2 separate regions of the Homo sapiens genome follow, and region 1 is linked to region 2. The links are contacts of gene promoters, found by promoter capture Hi-C in blood cells and fetal thymus (Javierre and others, 2016). All regions are on one chromosome and are shown on one strand. Each heading gives the region's core, a stretch centred on a gene start or on the middle of the fragment in contact. The rest is flanking DNA. Distances are from core to core; before and after follow the strand shown.

Region 1 (4,867 bases), core at 1,394-3,893, 760 kb before region 2:
AGACCGCTAGCAAGACTAATAAAGAAAAAAAGAGAGAAGAATCATATAGACACAATAAAAAACGATGAAGGGGATATCACCACTGATCCCACAGAAATACAAACTACCGTCAGAGAATACTACAAACACCTCTACGCAAATAAACCAGAAAATCTAGAAGAAATGGATAAATTCCTTGACACATACACTCTCCCAAGACTAGACCAGGAAGAAGTTGAATCTCTGAATAGACCAATAACAGGATCTGAAATTGTGGCAATAATCAATAGCTTACCAACCAAAAAGAGTCCAGGACCAGATGGATTCACAGCCAAATTCTACCAGAGGTACAAGGAGGAACTGGTACCATTCCTTCTGAAACTATTCCAATCAATAGAAAAAGAGGGAATCCTCCCTAACTCATTTTATGAGGCCAGCATCATTCTGATACCAAAGCCGGGCAGAGACACAACCAAAAAAGAGAATTTTAGACCAATATCCTTGATGAACATTGATGCAAAAATCCTCAATAAATTACTGGCAAACCGAATCCAGCAGCACATCAAAAAGCTTATCCACCATGATCAAGTGGGCTTCATCCCTGGGATGCAAGGCTGGTTCAATATACGCAAATCAATAAATGTAATCCAGCATATAAACAGAGCCAAAGACAAAAACTACATGATTATCTCAATAGAGGCAGAGAAGGCCTTTGACAAAATTCAACAACCTTTCATGCTAAAAACTCTCAATAAATTAGGTATTGATGGGACATATTTCAAAATAATAAGAGCTATCTATGACAAACCCACAGCCAATATCATACTGAATGGGCAAAAACTGGAAGCATTCCCTTTGAAAACTGGCACAAGACAGGGATGCCCTCTCGCACCACTCCTATTCAACATAGTGTTGGAAGTTCTGGCCAGGGCAATTAGGCAGGAGAAGGAAATAAAGGGTATTCAATTAGGAAAAGAGGAAGTCAAATTGTCCCTGTTTGCAGATGACATGATTGTATATCTAGAAAACCCCACTGTCTCAGCCCAAAATCTCCTTAAGCTGATAAGCAACTTCAGCAAAGTCTCAGGATACAAAATCAATGTGCAAAAATCACAAGCATTCCTACACACCAACAACAGACAAACAGAGAGCCAAATCATGAGTGAACTCCCATTCACAATTGCTTCAAAGAGAAAAAAATACCTACGAATCCAACTTACAAGGGATGTGAAGGACCTCTTCAAGGAGAACTACAAACCGCTGCTCAAGGAAATAAAAGAGGATACAAACAAATGGAAGAACATTCCATGCTCATGGGTAGGAAGAATCAATATCGTGAAAATGGCCATACTGCCCAAGGTAATTTACAGATTCAATGCCATCCCCATCAAGCTACCTATGCCTTTCTTCACAGAATTGGAAAAAACTACTTTAAAGTTTATATGGAACCAAAAAAGAGCCCGCATCACCAAGTCAATCCTAAGCCAAAAGAACAAAGCTGGAGGCATCACACTACCCGACTTCAAACTATACTACAAGGCTACAGTAACCAAAACAGCATGGTACTGGTACCAAAACAGAGATATAGATCAATGGAACAGAACAGAGCCCTCAGAAGTAACGCCGCATATCTACAACTATCTGATCTTTGACAAACCTGAGAAAAACAAGCAATGGGGAAAGGATTCCCTATTTAATAAATGGTGCTGGGAAAACTGGCTAGCCATATGTAGAAAGCTGAAACTGGATCCCTTCCTTACACCTTATACAAAAATCAATTCAAGATGGATTAAAGACTTAAATGTTAGACCTAAAACCATAAAAACCCTAGAAGAAAACCTAGGCATTACCATTCAGGACATAGGCATGGGCAAGGACTTCATGTCTAAAACACCAAAAGCAATGGCAACCAAAGCCAAAATTGACAAATGGGATCTAATTAAACTAAAGAGCTTCTGCACAGCAAAAGAAACTACCATCAGAGTGAACAGGCAACCTACAAAATGGGAGAAAATTTTCGCAACCTACTCATCTGACAAAGGGCTAATATCCAGAATCTACAGTGAACCCAAATTTACAAGAAAAAAACAAACAACCCCATCAAAAAGTGGGCAAAGGACATGAACAGACACTTCTCAAAAGAAGACATTTATGCAGCCAAAAAACACATGAAAAAATGCTCACCATCACTGGCCATCAGAAAAATGCAAATCAAAACCACAATGAGATACCATCTCATACCAGTTAGAATGGCAATCATTAAAAAGTCAGGAAACAACAGGTGCTGGAGAGGATGTGGAGAAATATGAACAACTTTTACACTGTTGGTGGGACTGTAAACTAGTTCAACCATTGTGGAAGTCAGTGTGGCGATTCCTCATGGATCTAGAACTAGAAATACCTTTTGACCCAGCCATCCCATTACTGGGTATATACCCAAAGGACTATAAATCATGCTGCTATAAAGACACATGCACATGTATGTTTACTGCGGCATTATTCACAATAGCAAAGACTTGGAACCAACCCAAATGTCCAACAATGATAGACTGGATTAAGAAAATGTGGCACATATATACCATGGAATACTATGCAGCCATAAAAAATGATGAGTTCATGTCCTTTGTAGGGACATGGATGAAATTGGAAACCATCATTCTCAGTAAACTATCGCAAGAACAAAAAACCAAACACCGCATATTCTCACTCATAGGTGGGAATTGAACAATGAGATCACATGGACACAGGAAGGGGAACATCACACTCTGGGGACTGTTGTGGGGTTGGGGGAGGGGGGAGGGATAGCATTGGGAGATATACCTAATGCTAGATGACGAGTTAGTGGGTGCAGCGCACCAGCATGGCACATGTATACATATGTAACTAACCTGCACAATGTGCACATGTACCCTAAAACTTAAAGTATAATAATAAAAATAAATAAATAAATAAAATAAAAAAAAAGGAAAAAAAAATTAAGAAAATTTATCTTCACTGACTCAATGTACAAATAAATAAATGATAGCAAGGCCAACTGCAGCTCTAAATAGTAGAGAATATAAATGATTCAAGCATAAAATGGTCAGAGTTCCCTGAATAAATATTTTCCTACAGTCATGTATAAATAATTCTGATTTCTGTCTGAACCACCTGTCTGCGTTCCTAGGGAAACTAAAGTGAATACATGCCTGTCTGTGACTCTACTCCCTGTATCAAAAGCCAAAGTGGACACAGCTACAGAGGGGAGAGAGGTTGTCTCCACATTCTGTTGTTGGATCACTCTCTTATTCACAATCGTCCCAGAAGCCATAGACAATAAAGGAAGGAGGAGCTGATGCAAAGGAATTGGATAGGGAGGTTCTCACCCTTCCATGTGTGCGGATAGTTTGGGTGTGTTGTAAAGACTCCAGACCACGCTCCAGACCATCTAAAGTTCCGGCTTCCATTTCTAACTGCCCTTACTAGAGCCTTAGGAAAAGCATTTAAATGCACTGCGACTTGGGTTGCTTCTCTTACATAGTAAGGAAAGAACCAGGAACAGACAAGATAATAATGATGATAATTTTTTTTTTTTTTTGAGACGGAGTCTCACTCTTTCGCCCAGTCTGGAGTGAGTGGCACAATCTCTACTCATTGCAACCTCTGCCTCCCAGGTTCAAGCAATTCTCTTGGCTCAGCCTGCTAAGTAGCTGAGATTACAGGTGTGTGCCACCACGCCCGGCTAATTTTTGTATTTTTATTTATTTATTTATTTACTTTTAACAGAGATGGGGTTTCACCATGTTGGCCAGGCTGGTCTCAAACTCCTGACCTCAGGTGGCTGCCTGCCTCGGCCTCCCAAAGTGCTGGGATTGCAGGCGTGAGCCACCACACCCGGCCAATGATGATACTTTTAAATAGTATTGAAAAAAAGAGAATTAAAGCACCATGGTGGAGACCGAGACTGGGAATGGTGAGAATTCTGAGTTAACCATTTTGGAGAAGGATTAAACTGGAGGTGCCGGTCACTCTGCACTAAAGGAAATATTAAGATTCTACACATCACAAATTGAGAATTTAAATGTGAGAGGGAAATAGTATGCATTTCATAAAAGTACACTTGCTTATGTATTCATTTATGTATAAAAAATTAGAGTTGTGGGAGACAAGAGAACTAGGATTCAGAAAGCAGGGGTAAGGACCTCACCACCATCAAAGGGAAACCAAGAAATTATGACAAACAAAATGAAGATTGAGATTTACCCTGCCTCTGTCTATATTTACAAAAAGGGAGCTCAAATCCCAGCTGATGTGTTGTCAGTTCCCTGGGTTCGAAGCCAGAGAACTCAGTAGTTCAGGGGTGTGCTTTTATTTCTGGATCTGTCCTGTCTAGCACAGAGGTTGACGCAAGAGTAGGAGTTAAATGAGAGGATAAACAAATTAATTTATTTATTTTTAAATTTACACCTCCACTAATCCAATCAATTGCATGGAAGTACATCTGCTTCAGAGAAGTAGCGACAGAGCCAAAGGAATTTGGAGCTCTGTTTATAATACTGCATTTACAAGAAAAGAGTTATCAAAGTGTCATTCTCTGAAAAACATGTTGCTCATTCACCTACTTAATAAAAAATAAAAATCTAAAAACTCATGATATAAATAATAAAGTAGAGAAACCAAATCTGAACAGTTAGGTTTCCAACTGGCCACTGGTATATTTTCAAATGGAAAAGGCAGCCATTTTAAAAACAAGACTTACCAAGCCTTTGGGAAAGCTTGAAGGTAGCTAAATCTGTCATTGGTATATGCAGCCACCAGATGTCACTATTGGCTTAAGCAAATATGCTCTAGCTCGCTGTCGGCTAATTCACACTATTTGTAATCTTAGAGACCTTGGAGGGCATCCTAC
Region 2 (5,116 bases), core at 173-2,672:
GCATTGGTGTGTCTACATGGTGCCTGTCTGAGAGAGTGGGTGGGTGTATGAGTGCCCTTTGACAGTACTGCATCCTGTCCAGGGCTGGTTCCTGCCTTGTATCCTCAGCTGCTGGGACAGGATCTGGTCAACCGTGACCCTGAACTGGAATATGCAGGTAAGCAGTTATCTTGTTTTTATCAATCTTTCATAAATGTATATATAGCTTAGATTTATTTCAATGTTTATTATTAGAGGTGTTTTGAGTATTTAGAGGTTTAGTGATGTTTTTGTGACTAGGAATATGCCATAAGAGCTTAACTCTTATTTATATCAATTAGCTCTTGGGAAAATTGTCTTCATTATCAATTGTTTCACTTTATGTCACAGTTTCCAGAACCTACAGAGGACATTAAGTGAGGACTTACTGTATATAGGTGGTTGTGCTTGTGAAGGATTAAATGAGGTAATGTGTGTGAAGCACTCAGGACAGTGCCTAGCACCTGGTAAGTGTCCATGAATTGGAGGCTATTATTGCTGTAATAAGGAAATTCATACACATTAAAATGGCTAAGAAAGTTCATTTTAAATAACCGTAACATGCACATTTGTATTGCTTTCTCGGATGATCTTGCTATTCTCTATTTCAGAGGAAGTCCGTGGAGAAGCCTGCCTGTTAGCTGTCTAGGGGTCAGGTGGCTTCTTGGCAGTATATATTACATGATAAACATTGACTTAATATGGACCATAACCACAAGGTAGAAAATAGGGAAACAGGGAGTGGAAAAACCACAGTGATCCTTTCCTAGAGAGAGACCAAAATATTAACCGCTGTAAACCTCTCATGTTACAGTTCGAACACATCTTAATAAATGATTAAATCTACTCTCTCATTTCATAAGTGGGGAACTGAAGCCCCCATAAAAGTTAGGGGCAGAACTATGACTATACTCAGACCACTCTTTCCCTGTATATTATATATACCTTTTATTATAAAAAATTTCAAAAATCACAGAAATACAAAGACTAGAACAATGCACACCTATGTACTCATCATCCAGCTTTAATAACAATCAAACTGTTACCTCTCTTAAAAAAACAGCTTTGATTCTGAGTCTGGTGTCATTTATACTCCTTCACAGAGATGTTCAGAACCAGTATCTTAGAGCACATCCCCCAGGCAAAGAAATGTAGCAATAAAAAGAGAAGGACATAGCATGAGAAAAAAAGGCAGGCTGTCAACCAATGCCTAAAATGTAGAAAGTTCTCTCAAGTTGTTTTTACAATAGTCTGGAAAACACAGTCTCATTCTGAAAGGACACTGTTCCTTTAAATTGCTTACTGATCCCACCCAGATCTTGCACCCTGGCCAAATGCCTGACCACTCTTGCTTTGACTTAGTCGAATAAACATGAACAAAAGACTGCAAAAGATCCTAAAGCAAAGACACTTTTATTTCCCACAGAACAGAACAATATCAAATAGCTAACTTCACCCCCAACCACAGTCCTTGCTGTTGGCATTTACTCAACTAGTCTTTAATTCCTGTTTGACAAACTTTATAAGGTAAGACATAACAGATTTATTTTAGTCACTTGAAATCAGATAGGACCATCAAGGAACTGTGGAAGACTAAATGACTTACTTACATAATTATTAGGTGAGAAAGCTTGTCAATAGTTTGTATTCTCTGCAATTACTTCAAATCAATTATTAGAAAAATATTAACATTGTTAAAATGTAGAAATTTAAAACTTAAAATTATTTTGAAATGGATTTTTAATTTACAGTCTTCTAAATTGTTTTACAACGATGTTAATATATTTTAGGACATCTTTTTCTTAATTTGGAACAGGGTTTACAATTCAGAATTAGTTATAGAATACTTTACAACTTGGCTAATTTGTCAATTTGAATAAAGTCTTTATTCAATCATTTTCTATTTGTGTAGAAACTGAGATGCAAACATTGTAACTAAAGTTGGTGAACTCTGATATAAGATCATTTTATTTTTGAAAAATTATAAAAAATAAAGTATCTTGGATTTATTTACTGATCCTGATATTTACCCCAAATAAATTTTAGGCCAAAAGTAAAACTACGGTATTTGATTAATAATTATGATTGTTTCTGCATTTATAAAATGTAACCTATAGTAAACACAGAGGTTCACATTTCTTTCACTTAACTAATGGCACTGTTTCCTCTGAAACCTATTTTGCTTGTACGTGACATCAGAAAGAGAGAAAGGTGAGAATTATTAAAAACAGAGGCAAAATAAAACATGGTAAAAAGTGATTAGAAATGAGTGGGCTCTCAAGATGCCAAATTAATAAACGAGAAAGATATTTCAGGGAAGCAGTAGAACTAACAAGCTAGAGAAACAAATCTAGAGAGGTATGAAAATGTCCTCTGGCTACAATAGGGAAACAGAAAGAAATAACAAGACTTTGGTTTGGGAGAGCTAGATTAACAATGTCAGAGCAAATAAGAACAAAATATGAGATACTGGGATTATTGTCAATGGAAAAGTTATGTTTGTGAATATCATATATACAGGGATCAGGTACAAATTCATGATTATATGCCAAGAAAACAGTAAGAGCAGGTGCTTAGTTTTGGGAAAAGATAAATCTTTATTTAAAGCCAGTATTTCTAAAACCTTACATGAAGGGTTTTGAAGAGTTGCTTGATTATGTTGCTTATAAAATCTTGCTCAGTTCTCAATGGAATTCAGTTCTCAGCCTCTTATTTCCAGAACTTCTGAGATGTTCCTTATGGTATGAACTCAACCAAAGAGAAAAGTCATATGTAATACCATGGCCATGGTGTTATTCCCTTTCCCCTTTGAAAATGCAATAACAACTGTGTTTTTCACATAGCCTTATCTTTACACTAACCTTCAGACTTAAAGTTGTACATCATTTATTTTTTTCCTTGGTTAGCAAAGGGACAACTTGAGGAGAGATGGCCTTTGTGTGTTCTGTTTCCTTAGCACATTTCTTGGTTTTGTTTTGTTTTTAATACCCAGCTGTCTTTACATTTTAGTATACCTTGTCTGAGGATCAGTTGGCATTTGGCCAATTGCTACACAAGATGTTTGGTCATACCTATCCAAAGTTCTTTTAATACACTTCCAGCTGGATGATGCTATGTGAGGAGCAGACTGTGGCATGAAGCCATCCATTGGTCCTCTCCTAACCCAACAGTTTTGTTTCCCTTTGGGGTTTATCCATCTGGCATGTATGAAAAAAGTCAGTCTCCATCTCACTCCTCACTGCCTTTGCATATATTTCCACTCTCTACTCAGAGTCTGGAAAAATCGTGCTCATGATTTCCCAGATTCTTATCCCCTAAAGGCAAGGTGCCAAAGAAGGAAAATGTGATTCCTTTTCCAGAACTCCTGAAGTCAATAAAGTTTCAGCAGGCAAGCATTTTTAAGCCATACTAAGTATTGATTCGAAATAAGCTTTCTCGTTCCCATTCTCTTGGGTATACTGAGGCAGCAACACATGAGTCTTCTCCTCCCAGGGAAATCTGTCAGTTTAAGAGTCAGTTGGTGTGTAGCTAGGCATATTGACTGATGAAGATTGAGGATTTTAATACAGAATTAGATTTTTCGTTGTTAATCCACCCAGAAAAATAGTTTCACGGGGCTATTCAGAGGGGGTGCTTCTTGGCTTTAAGTCCCGTTTCTGTCCATTAGTTCTTTTAGCCATCACTGGAAGAAGAGTGTTGCTTTTAAGCAAATCTATTATTTTTGCTCTCATACTCTTTTGATTCATTGCATATGCAGCTTTGAACCCCTGGTGGAGACAAAGTTTCCAAAGCTAGGGTAGAAAAGAGAGATGGGGTTCTATGGAAACAGAAGGGTCGTTTAATTTTTACCTTGACCTCTGAACTCACTGAAGTTATGTGTGTAGTATTAAGCCTGAAAGGGTGGTGGTTGTCTACAGTTCTACAAAATACTAGATTTGTCAGGAATCAGTTATAATGAAAGTGAATGAAATGACCATATAGCAATCTGAATTCCCCCTGAAGAATTTGGAAATGTCAAAGCAGACCCTGTGATTGAACCACAGTAATCATATAGAGCGGGATTGAAATGTTTTTAAATGGCTCTCCCAACTCTATGCTCCTCAAAATACAATGCGGAATTAAGAATACTTAAATATAGTTCTTTGAATATATAGAAATATTCACTAATAAATGTTTGGTCATGGTGCCATGATTTATTTGGATTGAAATCTTTCAAAATCTCAATGTGAATATTTTTCTAGAAATATGAATGAAAACCTCTTTTTTCCAGTCACATGCCAGTTTTCAACCCTGCTGGCTTGAAATTTAAAAATAACAAACACCATATTTTATTAAAGTATTTGTAACTGACTTTTCTATTAAAGGTGCTACAAGACAGATGATTTTTCACCATCTACCATAATGTGGAACAGATATTTTGTCTTCTATCTCCTGCTTTTGTCAGCGTTTACGAGTCAAACAGTATCCGGACAAAGAAAGAAAGGACCAAAATCAAATTTGCTTGCAAGGAAAAGTGATGTCCAGGGTAAAAAAAAAAAAATTGTTTGTTTTTAAGTTTAGCCTGTTAAAAATACTTATGTGAATTTTTCTAAATAGCATTTGATATAAATAGCAAGCCATATACATGTATACATGTGATAGTCTACTTTGATAAAATTATATGATGATAATATACCTTACATACTTATAGCACATCAGAGTCTTTAATAAGAGCACTTGTGCACTTATTATCTCATTTGAGCCTCACAGTAACCTTGTAAAATAGGCAGGACGGAGATTGCCACTCATAGTGTAGATTAAAAAAATTGAGGTCTTAACAGGTCGAGTGGCATACTCAAGGCCATAGGCAAATTAACCACTGAGACACAGAGCTGGGATTTAAACTTAAGTTGTGTTTAAGTTAGGTTTCTTCTCCACTTACTCTTGGTATAGGGGGTATAGTCATTTTCTCCCTTGATTTCAAGAAAGTTTAAAAAAAAATAGGGACTCACCAATATGACACAACCTGAGAATTAGAGTATCATTTACTTCTAGACAACTATGCTCAGTGTTAGTTGGATTTTTAAAATGTGATGCATCTTGACTTCCCATTTCCTCC

What was found. The method cuts DNA at HindIII sites, captures the fragments that hold promoters and counts their contacts. A CHiCAGO score of 5 or more calls a contact.
Region 1: a fragment that was not itself captured here is called in contact with the fragment with the promoter of COL28A1 in region 2 in 1 of 17 cell types (fetal thymus); the score reaches 5.2 in fetal thymus.

Annotation. Positions count from the first base shown.
Region 1 is chr7:8,296,167-8,301,033 of GRCh38, reverse strand. All of the region lies in intron 3 of ICA1-AS1 (ICA1 antisense RNA 1), which reads right to left. Among named protein-coding and RNA genes, the nearest start is that of ICA1-AS1, 36 kb to the right of the region's middle. The HindIII fragment of the contact is 4,184 bases long and covers 552-4,735 here.
Region 2 is chr7:7,532,179-7,537,294 of GRCh38, reverse strand. COL28A1 (collagen type XXVIII alpha 1 chain) reads left to right here and starts at 1,422. Exons shown (of 35, transcript NM_001037763.3): 1 at 1,422-1,545; 2 at 4,383-4,543. The coding sequence starts at 4,420. The HindIII fragment of the contact is 1,663 bases long and covers 1-1,650 here.